Regions from separate parts of the Homo sapiens genome. Here regions 1, 2, 3 and 4 are each linked to region 5. Evidence: promoter capture Hi-C in 16 types of primary human blood cells and fetal thymus (Javierre and others, 2016). All regions are on one chromosome and are shown on one strand. The core of a region is centred on a gene start or on the middle of the fragment in contact, and the rest is flanking DNA. Distances in the headings are between cores, read along the strand shown.

What was found. Contacts are between HindIII fragments. The CHiCAGO score rates a contact against its expected background, and 5 or more counts as called.
Region 1: a contact is called between a fragment that was not itself captured here and the fragment with the promoter of UTP20 in region 5, in 2 of 17 cell types (activated CD4 T cells and total CD8 T cells). The highest score is 5.2, in activated CD4 T cells.
Region 2: the fragment with the promoter of GAS2L3 here is called in contact with the fragment with the promoter of UTP20 in region 5 in 1 of 17 cell types (monocytes); the score reaches 7.3 in monocytes.
Region 3: a contact is called between a fragment that was not itself captured here and the fragment with the promoter of UTP20 in region 5, in 4 of 17 cell types (fetal thymus, naive CD4 T cells, naive CD8 T cells and 1 more). The highest score is 7.0, in fetal thymus.
Region 4: the fragment with the promoter of DRAM1 here is called in contact with the fragment with the promoter of UTP20 in region 5 in 1 of 17 cell types (monocytes); the score reaches 5.1 in monocytes.

What each region holds. Positions count from the first base shown.
Region 1 is chr12:102,051,286-102,054,012 of GRCh38, reverse strand. All of the region lies in intron 2 of WASHC3 (WASH complex subunit 3), which reads left to right. Among named protein-coding and RNA genes, the nearest start is that of WASHC3, 9.3 kb to the left of the region's middle. The HindIII fragment of the contact is 4,399 bases long and covers 1-2,727 here.
Region 2 is chr12:100,572,129-100,575,095 of GRCh38, reverse strand. It overlaps GAS2L3 (growth arrest specific 2 like 3), which reads right to left and starts at 1,412. Exons shown (of 10, transcript NM_174942.3): 1 at 1,311-1,412. RefSeq lists an enhancer at 1,118-1,407 and a silencer at 1,438-1,567. The HindIII fragment of the contact is 13,205 bases long and covers 1-2,967 here.
Region 3 is chr12:101,839,319-101,842,368 of GRCh38, reverse strand. No RefSeq gene overlaps it. Among named protein-coding and RNA genes, the nearest start is that of GNPTAB, 9.9 kb to the right of the region's middle. The HindIII fragment of the contact is 1,998 bases long and covers 413-2,410 here.
Region 4 is chr12:101,875,743-101,878,913 of GRCh38, reverse strand. It overlaps DRAM1 (DNA damage regulated autophagy modulator 1), which reads right to left and starts at 1,334. Exons shown (of 7, transcript NM_018370.3): 1 at 994-1,334. The coding sequence starts at 1,124. RefSeq lists enhancers at 448-497, 638-727, 366-1,147, 1,308-1,357, 1,148-1,930 and silencers at 948-1,287, 1,538-1,697. The HindIII fragment of the contact is 18,310 bases long and covers 1-3,171 here.
Region 5 is chr12:101,278,755-101,281,817 of GRCh38, reverse strand. UTP20 (UTP20 small subunit processome component) reads right to left here and starts at 1,713. Exons shown (of 62, transcript NM_014503.3): 1 at 1,491-1,713; 2 at 622-702. The coding sequence starts at 1,535. RefSeq lists enhancers at 1,640-1,689, 1,423-2,014. The HindIII fragment of the contact is 7,469 bases long and covers 1-1,973 here.

The sequences.
Region 1 (2,727 bases), core at 37-2,536, 770 kb before region 5:
ACTGATAATAACATAATTGATAACATAAAAAACCTCTGCACTTTTACTCCACCTCTCCACATTTTGCTTTTGATTTTGCAACGTATATCTTTTTATACTGCATATCCCTTAACAAGTTATTGTAGCTATTATTATTTTTAATAGTTTTGTCTGTTAACTTTCATACTAAAGATATAAGTGATTTAATCACCATGACAGTATTAGAATATTCTGAATTTGACTGTATACATTTTTTTTTCAGCTCTAAAATTTCTGTTTGATTTTTTAAATAATAATTCCAATCTTTCTGTTACATTTCTCATTTTGGTCATTTATTATTTTCTTGATTTCATTGAATTGTTTCTCTGAATTTTCCTGAAGTCCACTGAGTTTCCCTAAAACAATAATTTTGGATTCGTTGTGAAGAAGGGTCAGTTACTGGTGATTTGTTTCTTTAGTAGTGACGTGTTTCTCTGATTATTCTTGGTCTTTGTGGCCATGTGTTGGTATGTGTGTGTTTGAAGAAGTAAGGACTTACTCCAGTCTTTGCAGACTGGCTTTGTCTGGGAAAGCCCTTCACCAGTAAGCTCATCCAGAGGTTCTAGACAGGCCATCTGTTGTGGTGCATGGCAGGCTTGCTGCTGGAGTCCTTGGGTAGGCTGGCCTGGTGCCTAGGTTCGTAGGGTTGTTCCTGGAGCCTGATCCACTGGGGTGGACCTGCTGATTAGCTCTATAGGGGTGGGCCTGGATCCTTAGGGTTCCAACTTGAAGCCTAAGTCTGCAGGGGTTGGTCTGGCACTGGGGTGAGCCTTGAGCCTGAGTCTGCAGTGTCTGGCCAGGTTCCAAGGTGGGCCTGGTGCTTGGAACCCCTGGGGTGGACCTGGAGCCAGAGTATGTGGGGGTGGGCCTGGGTCCTGGTTGTACTGTGACTAGCCTGGAGCCTGAGTCTGCAGGAGTGGTCCTGCAGCCTCCGTCCATGGGGGCCAATCTGGCAATGCAATCTACTGGGGTGGTCCCAGACTCTGGGTCTGCTGGAACATACCTAGACCCTGACTCACCACAGGGATTTGTCTGGGGCCAGCTTGGTGCTGGGGCAAGTGTGCAGCCTGGGGTCACAGGGGCCAGACTGGAGCCTGAGATTATAGGTGCTGGCCTGGTAACTTGGGCTACATGGGGCTGGCCTGGGTCCTACGGCAATAGTGGCTAGCCTGGAACTTGAGTCCACAGGGATGGTCCTGGAGCCTGTGTTTATGGGTGTCAGCCCAACAGAAGGGCCTACTGGGATGGGCCTAAACCCTACTTCCACTAGGGTATGGGCTGCAGGAGCCAGACTGGGGCCACAGGAGCTGACTTGGCACTGGTCAGGCCTGGAACCTATATCTGCAGGAGCTGACCTGGTGCTGGGGTGGGCCTGAACCTTGGGCCCATGGAGGCTAGCCCTGTGCTGGGATTGGTCCAGAACCTAGGGCCACTGGGGCTGGCCTGTCCCTAGAGCAGACCTGGAGACAATCTATGCAGTCTTGCCTGGTGCTGGGACTGTCCTGAGCCTTGAGCTGGTCTGGAACCTACGGTCCCAGTGGGACAAGCCTAGAACTCAGGACTGGGTGATCCAGCCTAGTGCCAGGATGGGCCTAAAGGCTTCGCCTGCAGGTGTCAGCCTGGAGTCTGGGCTGAGGGGGCTTGCTCAGCACTGAGTTCTGCTGGGGTGGGCCTGGTGTTGTGGTCCAAGGCAAAGTCCTGTGCTCACTGCCTCTCCTTCGCCCACCTGGAGGGTATCTCTCTCCATGCTGTGCTGCCTGGAGTTGGGGGAAGGGTGACATGAGTTCTGTAAAACTGTCCTTCTTACCCTCTTCAGTGTGTTTTTTCTTACTTTTGTGCTAAACCCAGTGCTGTAATTTCTCACCTGGTCTCCTTAGCTCTTGAGAATGTATTTTCGTGCGTGAATAGTTTTTCAAATGGATGTTTCTGTGGGAGGATCAGTGCTGGAAAGTCCTATTCCCCCATCTTGCTGTTGTCCCACCTTTTTCTCCTTTATGTATGATAATCTAGGGTTGACTGTAACTGATTGTCTACAATATATATTTTAGCAATTTGGATATTCATGTCAGCTGGAGACTGCTCAATGAGATAACAACTAATATTTATTGTGTACTTCCTCTGTGCTGGGCATCATACTAAGTGCTTTATGTGTATTTAATTATCGCAGTCAGTCCTTTGAGAGAGGTTTAGTTATCCCACTCATACAGATACAGAAACTAAGATGTAGAGAAGTTTAAATCATTTGCTTAGTCATTCATTCATTCAACATATCTTTGCATGCCCCCAGTAGTTGTAGCTGCATTAGCTGCACATACACAGATAGAAAGTAGCAGAACTGGATTCCCACTGATTTTTTAACTGGAAAAGTCAATATCTCATTGCTTTCTTACATTGCACTGCTTTATCTGATTAAGAAGCATGCTTATGTCAACTTCAAGTGAGAGAGTGCAGTACAAGTACCTTCTTATAGCTATATTAAAATCTATTTTTAGACTCATTCACTTCTTTGCTATGCTATGTCTGTTTGATGTAATATATTTTTATGTCAATTCCAAAGATACATGTATTCAAATGTAAGGTGCCATTTTCTCCCAAGGTAAAGTCACTTTGGTGTTTTGAAATGTTTTTGTTAATAGTGCCTAATAGGCCTCTAGTCCTTATTTATTTAAAGCCTCAAACAAGAACCAACTGACTGTTTCTCTCAACAAA
Region 2 (2,967 bases), core at 163-2,662, 710 kb after region 5:
ACTAGGAAATTTAGGCTTAGAAGGATTAAATAATGTGTCTAAAGTCAGATATCCAATGAAGTCTGATTTCAGAGCCCCCCTGCTTAGCAACTCTGTCACGCTAAAAAAAAAAAAATTACTACTTCTAATTCAATGTCAGATAGCAAACACCTACTGTTCAATGACAGTTGGTTTCTAATGAGATTTTGAAACAGATGAGTCAGACAACAGGTATCGGCATCTACACCAGATCACTAGAGTTTCCACTTCTGTCATTTGAAACAGTTCCAATTTGTTCCCAAAGGGAATCTGAGGTGGTGAGAATTTCAATTTCTAATCATTTAAGTGCCAAGACAGGTGATCAGATAGCAATTCACAAAGCGGTTCTGTTGTTCTTGTTGTTTTTGTTTGTTTGTTTTTTGCTCTTCACACAAGCGAAGCAAAACCCAGGCTCTGACCTAAAATCATCTCTTTGCAACCACTGGGGATCAGCTATTCCACCATGCCATGCCACAAAGCACTCAAATTTACAACATTCAATCCCTCGGTGTGAAAAGATTAGGAAAGGAACCACGGGTGACTGCATAGAGGAGCACGCCCTCCAAAACTTTCCTCTGACTTCCAAGGCACTCTACAAGCCTTCCCTTTCTTTTGCCAGCCTCTCCCCGGGCAGTCCTCCAAACTGAGGGTTGTGGGCGGAAGGCATCGCGCAGGGTCTCCAGCTCTATTCCCCAGTTCCGCACATGTGGGCGTTCTAGACCCTGCATGGACTGGGAGAAAAAACAGGGAAGAGCCTATAAACCTTGCTAGAGGGCAAGAATAACTGTCTGTCTCTTTCTCTTTGCAGGGCCAGAGACTTCATCAATTCTTTCCGAGGATGATGAACAGAAAAAAACAGACCCTCTAAGTGCCAGGCGCTTAGGGATGAGGGTGCCCCTGAAGATCCCACAGTACCTTCGGGCTCTGATACCGCTCTGGATTTAAAGCAGGGCGAGTAGCGGCTGGATCCCTCCTCCCCAGCTGAGCTCGCCCACACCAGCAGCCCCAACCGCCCCGCACACCTGTCGCCCCTCTCTCCGCACTTGGGTGGACAGGTGAAGGCAGGCGCAACGTCACCTTGACGGCCCCAGGAGCCAATCAGAGCACGCGACTGCCGCAGCCAGGCAAACGCAGAGCGTACTGGCTCCCGCAGCCGGGAGACCCAACAAACCTCAGCTTCGGGGCCTCAGAGAGCGGGGGGCTCCTGGAGCCCTCAGGCTGAGGCGCGGAGGCCCCGAGACAGCGCGTAAAAGTTCGCCAGGAAAAGAGAAGACAAACAGGGAAGTACTCACCAGGCGCAGGAGGGTCACTTCTCCCAGCGGGGCGACAACTCGGCTCAATCTGTGCGGGGCCAACACGCCCCTGACCAACCGCCGCCGCTGCCGCCGCCGCCTGGGCCTCAGGGTCAGTAGCCGCTGGCCGCCGCCTGTTTCGAAGGGACCAATCATAAGGCGGGGGCGTGGTCTGAGGCCCCGCCCCCGGGCTGCCGGGAAGCACGCGACCCGTGGGCGCTCGCCTGTCAGCGCGTCCAGCGCTGCGCCTCCGGGCGTCTCGGAGCTTCGGTGGCCAAGTCCCTCTGTTCACTGAAAGGCGAAGTGGTTCAGTCAGAGCAGGTCCTCCGATCTGGCCTTTCAGCGACAGCCAGTTCGAAAGCCACAGCCCGTCCTGTTGTTCCCACAGGCCTGAGAGGTGAATGAACCTCGCCTGTAATAATTGCTTCTGAGCGTCCTGGAATGTTGCGGTGCAGCTGAAGGCGCTTCCCTGAGTTTTATCCTGGTCTGTTAAGAGCCGCTCCCAACCCCACATCCACTCGGGAGCTGGCTGACCTGAGGGCGCCACGGTTTCCAGAGACGCAGCCTGGAACCCAGCAGGAATGGGGGTCCTCAGCAGAAATCTTTCAGAGAGAGGCCCCTCTTCTCAGGTGCGGAGGGATGAGGAGGAATCCTGTAGTCCCAAGTCACAAAAGGAGGATGTTGACTCTTCAGCAAACACCGGAGCCTGAAAACAAAACAAAACAAAACAAAAAAACAATGAACTTCAACGTAAGGGATGCTTACTAGCTCCCAGGGTTGAAATAAAGCCGAGACTAGACATCAGTGTAACAATCCCAAGTCGGTTATATCTGTAAATGTGGCTTGTTTCATAGCAAAAAATAAAATAAATAAATAAATAATTTTTTAAAAAAATCACTGGCTTTGTCCCCGAGGCCTGTGTTGCAGCCCAGGCCCTTCTTTTTTTTTTTTTTTTTTTTTTTTTTTTTTTTTTGAGACAGGGTCTTGCCCTGTCACCCAGGCTGGAGTGCGGTGGCACGATCTCGGCTCACTGCAGCCTTGATCTCACGGACTCAAGAGATCCTCCCACCTCAGCCTCCAGAGTAGCCAGGATTACAGGCCTGTGCCACCACACCGGGCTAATTTTTGTGTTTTTTGTAGAAATGGGTTTTTGCCATGTTGCCCAGGCTGGTCTTGAACTCCTGGGCTCCAGTGATCCTCCCACCTCGGCCTCCCAAAGTGCTGGGATTACAGGCGTTAGCCACCTCACCCGGCCCTATTCAGTCTTTTAGCCTTCCTCAAATCATGTCTCCTCTCTGGGCCTCAGGTCTCCATCTGTGAATGGTGGGCACTGAACTGGAATGACATCTCTCTCTAGCATTTATTCCTTCCTTTACTCAACAAAAACAATGAGATGTACTGTTGCTTGCTAAAGAAACTGAAATGAAAACAGCCTTAGGCTTCAAAGTGCTCAGCAGCATGGTAAAGGCCAAATGGAAGTCTGTGGAGGTCCATGAAAGAAGGAACCCCTAAGAGTCTTGAAGGGTGATGGCAGAGGTTTGAAAGGAGCTGAATTTTTAAAGATGAATTAAGACTCTGCCAGGAGGGAGGGATAACTGGGAATAAGAATTAATTTCCAGGCAGAGAGAGCAACAAAGACAAGGTTCCAGAGATGTGA
Region 3 (3,050 bases), core at 162-2,661, 560 kb before region 5:
ATAATCTAGGGGTTCTTGCCACATTCATTTATTCGTTCCTTTAGCCTAAAATGTCAGAAGCACCAGTTATTACTCTTTCACTGTGATATTTATACTTTGGATAAATTAACTCTGAAATTTCCTTGTTGGTTGGCATCACTTGGACTTTTACTGTGCTCCTGGGATTGGTTACAGTGAGTTTAATACATCTAGAGCACTGCCAAAGCATTATAGCAAAATATCAGAGTATCCCTGACAGTATTCTGGAAAGCAGACTATGCAAAATGCAAAAGTCTCCCTATTTAATTATGAACTTGACATTGCAATGAATTAGAGAATCAGCATTTATGGATAATCAAATATATATATTGAGTGCTCACTGCTTTGGGTGTTTTGTTTGCTTGTTTGTTTGTTTCCGGTGGGGTTGGAAGCTTTGGTTTTAAGGAGATGAAAACTAAAGAAAGTTCCAAATGCTTGGAGATCAGAAAATTGATCCAGTTTTCAAACACCAGGTACAAAGATGAGGGTAGGAGTTAGCTTTTGCAAATAGGTAGATTCTGCAAAGTACATCACAGTGGACTTCATATTGATCCTGAGGTTTGTGAGAACTTAAACAGGGAAGAAATTAGGAACTAAGGGGGAGACAGGAGAGACAAGACAGACAGAAAAATACACAGAGGGAATTTTCTTTCTTTCTTTCTTTCTCTCTTTCTTTCTTTTTTTTTGAGACAAAGTCTCACTCTGTTGCCCAGGCTGGAGTGCAGTGGCCTGATCTCGGCTCACTGCAAGCTCTGCCTCCTGGGGTTCACGCCATTCTCCTGCCTCAGCCTCCCGAGTAGCTGGGACTACAGGCGCCTGCCACCACACCCGGCTAATTTTTTGTATTTTTAGTAGAGACGGGGTTTCACCATGTTAGCCAGGATGGTCTCCATCTCCTGACCTCGTGATCCGCCCACCTTGGCCTCCCAAAGTGCTGGGATTATAGGCGTGAAACACTGAGCCCAGCCTCTTTGTTTCTTTCTCTCTCTCTTTCTTTCTTTCTCTCTCTCTCGCTCTCTCTTTTTCTTTTTCTTTCTTTCTTTCTTCTTTCTTTCTTTTCTTTCTTTCTTTCTTTTTCTTTCTTTCCCCCTCTCTCTCCCTTCCTTCCTTTCTTCCTCCTTTCCTTCTTTTCTTTTCTTTTGTCTTACTCTTTTGCCCAGGATGGAGTGCAGTGGTGCTATCACAACTCATTGTAACCTCAAACTTCTCAGCTCAAGTGATCCTCCCTCCTCAGCCTCCCAAGTAGCTAGAACTACAAGTCTGTACCACCACACCTAGCTAATTTAATTTTTTTTTTTTTTGAGATGGAGTCTCACTCTTATCACCCAGGCTAGAGTACAATGGCACAATCTCGACTCACTGCAACCTCCCCCTCCCGGGTTCAAGCGATTCTCAAGCCTCAGCCTCCTGAGTAGCTCGGATTACAGGCATGCGCCACCAGGCCTGGCTAATTTTTTTATTTTTAGTAGAGACGAGGTTTCGCCATGTTGGCCAGGCTGGTCCGTCTTGAACTCCTGATCTCAGGTGATCCACCCGCCTTGGCCTCCCAAAGTGCTGGGATTACAGGCGTGAGCCACTGCACGCGGCTAATTTTTTTTCTTTTCATAGAGATGGGTCTCACGATGTGCCCAGGCCAGTCTTAAACTCCTGGGCTCAAGCGACCCTCCAACCTTGGCCTCCCAAAGCACTGGGATTACAGGCATGAGCCAAAGCCATTGGTGAGAATATTTTCTTTTTGAGCAAACCTGAAACTTTACAAAAATGGACAATGTGCTAGGCAACGAAGGAAGAGTCAATGAATTCCAAGGAGTTTTACTATTATACAAGCTATGTTCTCTTACCTTATTTTGGTCAGGGTAATTATTTGTAGATTAAGGAATCTATTCACTGATTTAAACAGAAAGGGATTAAGTTGGCCTACCCATAAGCCCTCAGGAGGTCTGAACAAAGAGCCTTTACCTATGACAGTATTCTAGATAGAGACTACTAGGTTGAATTTGTAAGATCAGGTCCTAATACTCCACTGAACTAAGCTGTCAAGGGAGCTACTGACGCTGCCGGGATCAGAAAGAGCAGGATCAGGATGCTTTCTACAGAGGCAGGAAGCTGCTTCCAACTGCACCACACCTGCCTTGACTCACTCACTCCAGCCAAAACAGGCGCCCTTTGCACTGCCTCTCTCTCTCCATGTAGCTTACTTCCAGGTTGAAATCTTCTGTGAATTCACCTGATTAGGAGAACTTCAACCACACCTAGAACCCTGGCTTCAAGGATATGCCAATAATCAATTGTTGCCTCTCAGTTCCAAATTCACTCCTTCAGAACTTGCTGTGTATTAATGAATTGGACTTCTTTTGAAGCGTTTCTTTTGCAGTGAGTGTGATGTGAAGCTTTGCCAGTAGAGGGCGATGAAGGAATGTTGCAGGAAGAAGGTGGCATCACCCCCCGCCCCAACTCTTTCCATATTTGCTCCCCTCCCTTCCTCCGTCCTTTTAAAAATATTTATTTATTTGGCATAAAATTTTTTTACTGCTCTTTGTGGAGCAGGGCTACCCCATGGTGTGCCCATTTATTTTTTATTTATTTATTTTTTTAGAGACAGGGTCTCACTATGCTGCCCAGGCTGATCTCAAACTCCTGGGCTCAAGTGATCCTCCCACCTTGGCCTCCCAAAGTGTGCTGGGATTACAGGCATGAGGCATTGTTCCTGGGTTTTTTGTTTGTTTGTTTTGTTGTTGTTATTGTTTGTTTGTTTGTTTTTTTTTTCCACAGGATCTTGCTCTGTCACCCAGGCTGGAGAGCAGTGGTACAATCACAGCTCACTGCAGCCTCAAACTCTTGGGCTCAGGAAACTCTCCTGCCTCAGCCTCCTGAGTACTGAGTAGCTGGTACTACAGGCACGGGCCACAATGCCTGGCTAATTTCTTTCTTTAAAAAGTTTTTGTAGAGATGGGGATCTCAATATGTTTCCCAGGCTGGTCTTGAACTCATGACCTCAAGCAATCCTCCTGCCTTGGTGTTCCAAGGTTCTG
Region 4 (3,171 bases), core at 85-2,584, 600 kb before region 5:
AAAAACAAACAAACAAACAAAAAAACACAGAACATTGCTCACCAGACAGAATGGCTGCAGGGAAGAAGACGCCCTACATTTTCTATCATAGCAGTAACAAACCTTGGGTGTCACCAACCTTATCATCCGTTCACCAACCAATGCCTGTCCAGAGGGGTCACACTACTTAGATAAGGATGGATGGTTCTAACGTTTAAAGAATCCTGCCACTATGAGAAAGGCACTGAGCTGGAACCCACATAGGAGGATCAGACCACTGTCCCTGGCACTGAAGTGCCCCTCAGGAAGGTAGAGGCCAAAGCACAGGAAAAGTGAATGGGTAAAATAACACAAAAGATGTCACAAGTTGTTGACAAGTTGAGGACTTTGGGGTCACAGTGCCCAGAGGTGTCTGGTGCAGCTCCAGAGAATTTAAGCCAGACTCCCAGAGACCTGGGGGCAGCACAGTGTTGCTTTCTGCATGGCCGGGTGTGAATTCTGCTCCTACCATTAACTAGTGTGACATCAGTGTCACGTTGATGATATTTCATCAACTTTACACCACCGCTCGCTTGCGGGAATAATAAGCCCAAACATCCACTTCAAGGGATGTTGGGATGCAGAAGTGAAAATAGTGGCTGTTTAGCATATACCTGGATCTACCTCTTGTATAATATATGTCATCTATCAGAACCCATCTTGTTTCAATATCGCCTAAGAACGTCCTGCTGAGATTCTGTCCCATACCCAGAATGAAAGCTCTACCATCTATCCTGAACCTCTCCTTGCTGCCACCCTGTTCCATGCTCCGGGTACAGGCAGAAGTGCTCAGCGCCGCACCCGCTGCCTCCCTAAACATCCCAGGCTATCGGGAGCACCTCTCCTCCTGCTCCCACCTCTGCCTGACCACACGACGCCCCAAGCTGGGTCCGGACGCCTTCCCTCCCCGTCGGCAGCGCTCCCTGTGGTCCCTGTGCCTGCTCCTGGGGCCCTGACGCCCACCCTGCCACTCACCTGATATACGGGAGGAAGGGGTTGACGTGCCCGGAGAGCACGGCGACCACGTAGGAGATAATGAAGGCGGCTGACGACCAGGTCACCAAGAGGAAGGGGACGAAAGCCATTCCCCTCAGGAAGCACAGCATCGCGCCGCCGCCGCCGCCGACGGAGTGCTGCGCCCAGCGGGGCCGGGCGCCGGGTTGCTCCGGGCTGCCTGGAGGCGGCGGCCGGGCGCGTACACTCACGGACGGTGGGAGGGGAGGCTCCGCGACGGCCGGGGCAGGCCCAGCCCCGGAGGGAGGGGAAGCGCGAGGAGCGGAGCGAGGCTGCGGGCGGCGAGGCTGCCGGGCCAGAGTGGGTGGGGCGCGGGCTGCCCGGGCTTGTTGCGAAACGAGTGAAGTCACAAAGCGGCCCGGCAGGGTCGGAGGCGCCCGGCGAGCTCCAAGCGGACGCGACTACGGAGCCGCCGGAGGGGACGCGGGGTCGGGTTCCTTTCGCTTTTGGTTTGGACACTCGGCGGAGGCCGGGTTGGGCGCGGACGGGCGGCGTGGGGTCACTGGCGGGGACGCCCGCTCTGGCCTTCCCACTCTGGCCCTACCGCGCTGGCTCTTGCGCAACTCTGGAGAAAAGGATTTATTTCTCCCAACCCCTCCCTCCCGGGGGATTTCCGGAGTGCCGGGCCTCGCACCCCGAGGGCGCCCCCTCCGAGGTCCCGCCGCCGGCGCTTCGCAGCAGTGAGAGTGGCCACCGCGTGGTGACACCCATGCCATCCGGTCGCGCTGCTGCTGCGGGGGTCGGGCAGAAGTGTTCAATGAGGTTCGCCAGGTCACGGGGCGCAGATGTGGCTCCCACCTCAATGGTGAACACCCGAAAACCCAGACAGGGTGGGAACGGGTGGGGTGGAGAGTACGCGGGTGGGGTGCGGGGCAGGCGGGTGGGACTGCGCGCCCACGGAGCCGGGAGGCCCATTGTGCTGCTTTCCAGGAGAGCGCAACTGGAGAATATTTCCTGGAAATAAGATTTCCCAGGCCGGGCGCCGTGAATAGCCATCACTTTGGGAGGCATCCAAAAGCCATCACCCCTGGAATGCCACCACTTTGGGAGGCCGAGTTGGGAGGATCGCTTGAACCCAAGAACTAGAGATCAGCCTGGGTAACATAGCGAAACCCCTCTTCTACAAAAAAAAAAAAAAAAAATGAAAAAGAAAAAAAGCCGGTTCCAGTTACTCGGGAGACTGAGTTGGGATGATCACTTGAGCCTTGGGGGTCGAGGCTGCAGTGAGCCTTTATCACACCACTTCACTCGGCCTGGGTGACAGAGCAAGACCTTGTCTCAAAAAACAAACAAACAAAAAAAAAACAAAAAAAACTCCCCTCCAGGTTCTGGAGTAGCCCAGACTCGGAGCCTTGGCCTAAGATGATTAATAGTGACTTGATACATTTCAAGCCCTGTGAAAGGGATTTGTGTTCTGGAGGCACTTATAATATAAGCACATGATTTTGATAGTTTAGGGAGTCTGAGCCCAACATATGTGGCCAAAATTGTTGGGTCATTGGTGACCAAAGATAGGTTCCTTTCAGCCACAAACACATTTCATGGGCGCCATGCTAGGCTACAAAGATGAAATAGTAATAGTACCCTCAGGACGAGGACACTCATAGATCAAAATAACAAAATTAGGCCAGGCGTGGTGGCTCATGCCTGTAATCCTAGCACTTTGGGAGGCCAAGGTGGGTGGATCACCTGAGGTCAGGAGTTCGAGACCAGCCTGGCCAACATGGTGAAACCCCATCTCTACTAAAAATACAAAAAATTAGTCAGGCATCATGGCTCACGCCTGTAATCCCAGCTACTCAGGAGGCTGAGGCAGGAGAATCGCTTGAACCTGGGAAATGGAGGTTTTCTCAGTGAGCTGAGATCACACCACTGCATTTCAGCCTGGGTGAGAGAACGAGACTCTGTCTCAAAAATATAAATAAATAAAAACAAAATTATGTTATGTGGTTTATTAAATGGAAAGGAGAGGATTTTAAAAAGTAGAGACATGCCCAGAGCTGAGGGCCAGGGGCCTGGGCTCAGAGGAAGGACCACGGAGGTTTTCTGACAGATGACATCAGAGTTTTCAAAAGGAAGTAATTACTAACCAGGCAAAGAAAAATAAGATTAGCATTCCAGGCCCAGAAAACAACTGGA
Region 5 (3,063 bases), core at 464-2,963:
CAGGAGAATCGCTTAAACCTGGGAGGTGGAGATTGCAGTGAGCCAAGATCACGCCACTGCACTCCAACCTGGAGACGGAGCGAGACTCCATCTCAAAAAAATGAATAAATAAATAAAAGTAAAATAAAGGGATGACAGAGTCAGAGTATGGTTAAAACTGGAAAATATTATGTAGTCTAGCCCCTTTATTTTTATAAAGGAGAAAATTAAGCCCCGGGAAAAGGGCTTCCTCAAAATCACTTTAAAGTTATAGCTTCAGGAATATGGATCTGCAGCAGTGCTTGGAATGCATAAGGGAAAGGGAGAGGCTAGAATCACAAAGACAGCTGAAAGTCAAGTCAATTGTCTAATAGAGCTTCACCCAACAGAACTTTCTGCAAAGATGAAAATGTTCCAATTCTATATTTATTCAATATGTTAGCAACTAGCCACATTTGGGCACCCAAATTTTTAATTTACTTTAAATCCAATTTGTCATATGTGGCTACTGTATGAAACAGCACAGGTCTAAAGCATTTCATGTCCAAAAAGGAATACCTTGAAAAACAATTCACTTCTACTAACAGAAGAAACTAAAACACCATGAACACTTGAAGATTGACTAGTATCACATTCTCTTACCTCCTCATAGCTTGCAGTTCTATCAATCCGGTGAATAATATCAATATTAACATTCCCCAGTCGTTCAGCAAATGTAAGAAACTGGAAGGGAAAGTATATTTAAGATACATAATTAATTAAAATTTATCAGATCTTTAATATCTATTTGAATGCTGCATGTAGGCATCTCTAATCACAAAGGATAAGTGGAAAAATAAACTGAAAAACATACGGCCGTAAACAAATTTACTGCATCACTGTTCAAAGATAATGAATACTTCTATGTTTGCATAATTTCTCTCAGCTATGTCATTTCAAATAAAATTTCCATTGCCAGACTGGTGAGCCTAGGTGGATGCTGGCAATTAGTCTCGCTAGATCTATTAGGTTTCATACCCTCCCATAAGCATGGGGACCTAGCAAAGTCGCTGCAATAAAAGTGTTTTTAAACATATACAGACCTATGATTGTATCCTAAGGAAGACCTGGAAACAATCTATCAAGGGGCAAACAGAGAAAGCGCTGTATATTTGCCCTTAGCTGGGAATCACTCACCGCCAGCCGACTCGCCCAATTCGGTCTTTAAAGATAAAAGAGCAGGGGAGAATTGGTCCTAAGCAATCTCCTGGAATAGTGAATTTAATTCTGGACTACAGGAAATTCCCAGGACTGGCCAGACCCCATAAAACATGGGTGAAACTTGCTGTCCACACTTCTTTCCTCCTCCAACCCATGTTTACTACATCCAGTGTCTCCCTCTTTCGCCGGAGCCTCCAGGAAAGTGACACACTCGGCCCAGAAGTCTGAGGCCCCTGGAGTCTCGCTCAGAGCCTGTCTCACGACTGAGGCAGCGGAGACCCGCGGCTCCCTGCCTAAGCTCCCGCGCTCACCCGGTAGGTGTTCTCGGTCTTGTGGGAAACGGGCTTTGTCTTCATGGCTGCAGAGGGCCAGTGGCCCGCGACGGCCTCGGGAGTGTCGAAGGGATGCAACCGACAGTAAGGAGGGGAAAGCGGCTCACAGGCTATACTCTCCGATTCCCAGATGCCCAGACTTTCTCACGTGCGGCTTGAGCCCCTGGGCGCCGCCATGTTGGAGACAAGGAGGAGCCTGAGTGGGTCACGTGGACGGAAAAAAGAACGGCGCAGGCGCACCCTTTGGTGGGGTGGGGCCTACAGGAGGCGGGGCTGCGCACATAAGGGCGGGCGTTTGGGTGAGGTGTTCTTTTCACTCCCTTCGGTAAAGGTTTAGAAGACAAATGTATTTTCATTATAAAATAAAACATACCTGTAATCGTTATCAACTAACATTACTGTCCCTCACTACGTACCTGCATCGTGCAAAGATCCTTTCATCCATAATTTCACAGTAAAGCTTATTAGGGATGTTAATACAAAGGAGGTACTGCGTCTATCTATATATCTATATATAGATATATACTTTTTTTTTTTTTTTTTTGAGACGGAGTCTCACTCTGTCTCCCAGGCTGGAGGGCAGTGGCGCGATCTCGGCTCACTACAATCTCCGCCTCCCGGGTTCAAGCAGTTCTCCTGCCTCAGCGTCCAAAGTAGCTGGGACTACAGGCACCCGCCGCCACGCCCGGCTAATTCTTTTGTATTTTAGTAGAGACGGGGTTTCACCTTGTTGCCCAGGCTGGTCGCGAACTCCTGAGCTCAGGCAATCCGCCCGCCTCGGTTTTCCAAAGTGCTGGGATTACAGGTGTGAGCCACCGCGCCTGGCCGGTACTGTGTATATTTTTAAGCCAATTTGACACAAGAGGAAACCAAGGTTGTGCAGCTGGTAACTGGCAGTCTTCACTCAGACTCTAAATTTTGGTATTCTTAACCACTACGCTGTAAATAAAATTGAAAAATAGAGAAGGAGTTTTAAGAAAAATCTTTTAATTTCATGCACAACCGCTGTTAATGTTTGGTGTTTTTCCCATCACTTTAATGTCTACACATAGCATGTTGTTAAATTGTACAGTTATATATACATATATGTACAATTTTAAAAAATAATTTAAAAATATAATTATTTACCCCATTTTACATTCATTCATTCATTCAGCAACTATTTCTTGAGAGTCCTCTGTGGACCAGGTACTGTTCTGGGAGCCAAACGAGAAAGGCAATAATAGTATTAATTAATTATTTGAAAATATTCACAGCCTTCAATTCCTGGGCTAAAGTGAGCCTCCCACCTCAGCCTCCCAAGTAGCTAGGGCTACAGGCATGCACCACCACACCCAGCTCTTTTATTATTATTATTATTATTATTATTATTATTATTATTATTTGTAGAGATGGGATCTTGCTATATTGCCCAGGCTGGTATCAAACTTCTGGACTCAAGCAGTCCTCTTGGCTTGGCCTCCCAAAGTGCTGGGATTACAGGGGTGAGCCACCATGCCCAGACTGGAAATACTTGGTCTGAGATGCTTACATTTTAGTCAAGGAGTGATGT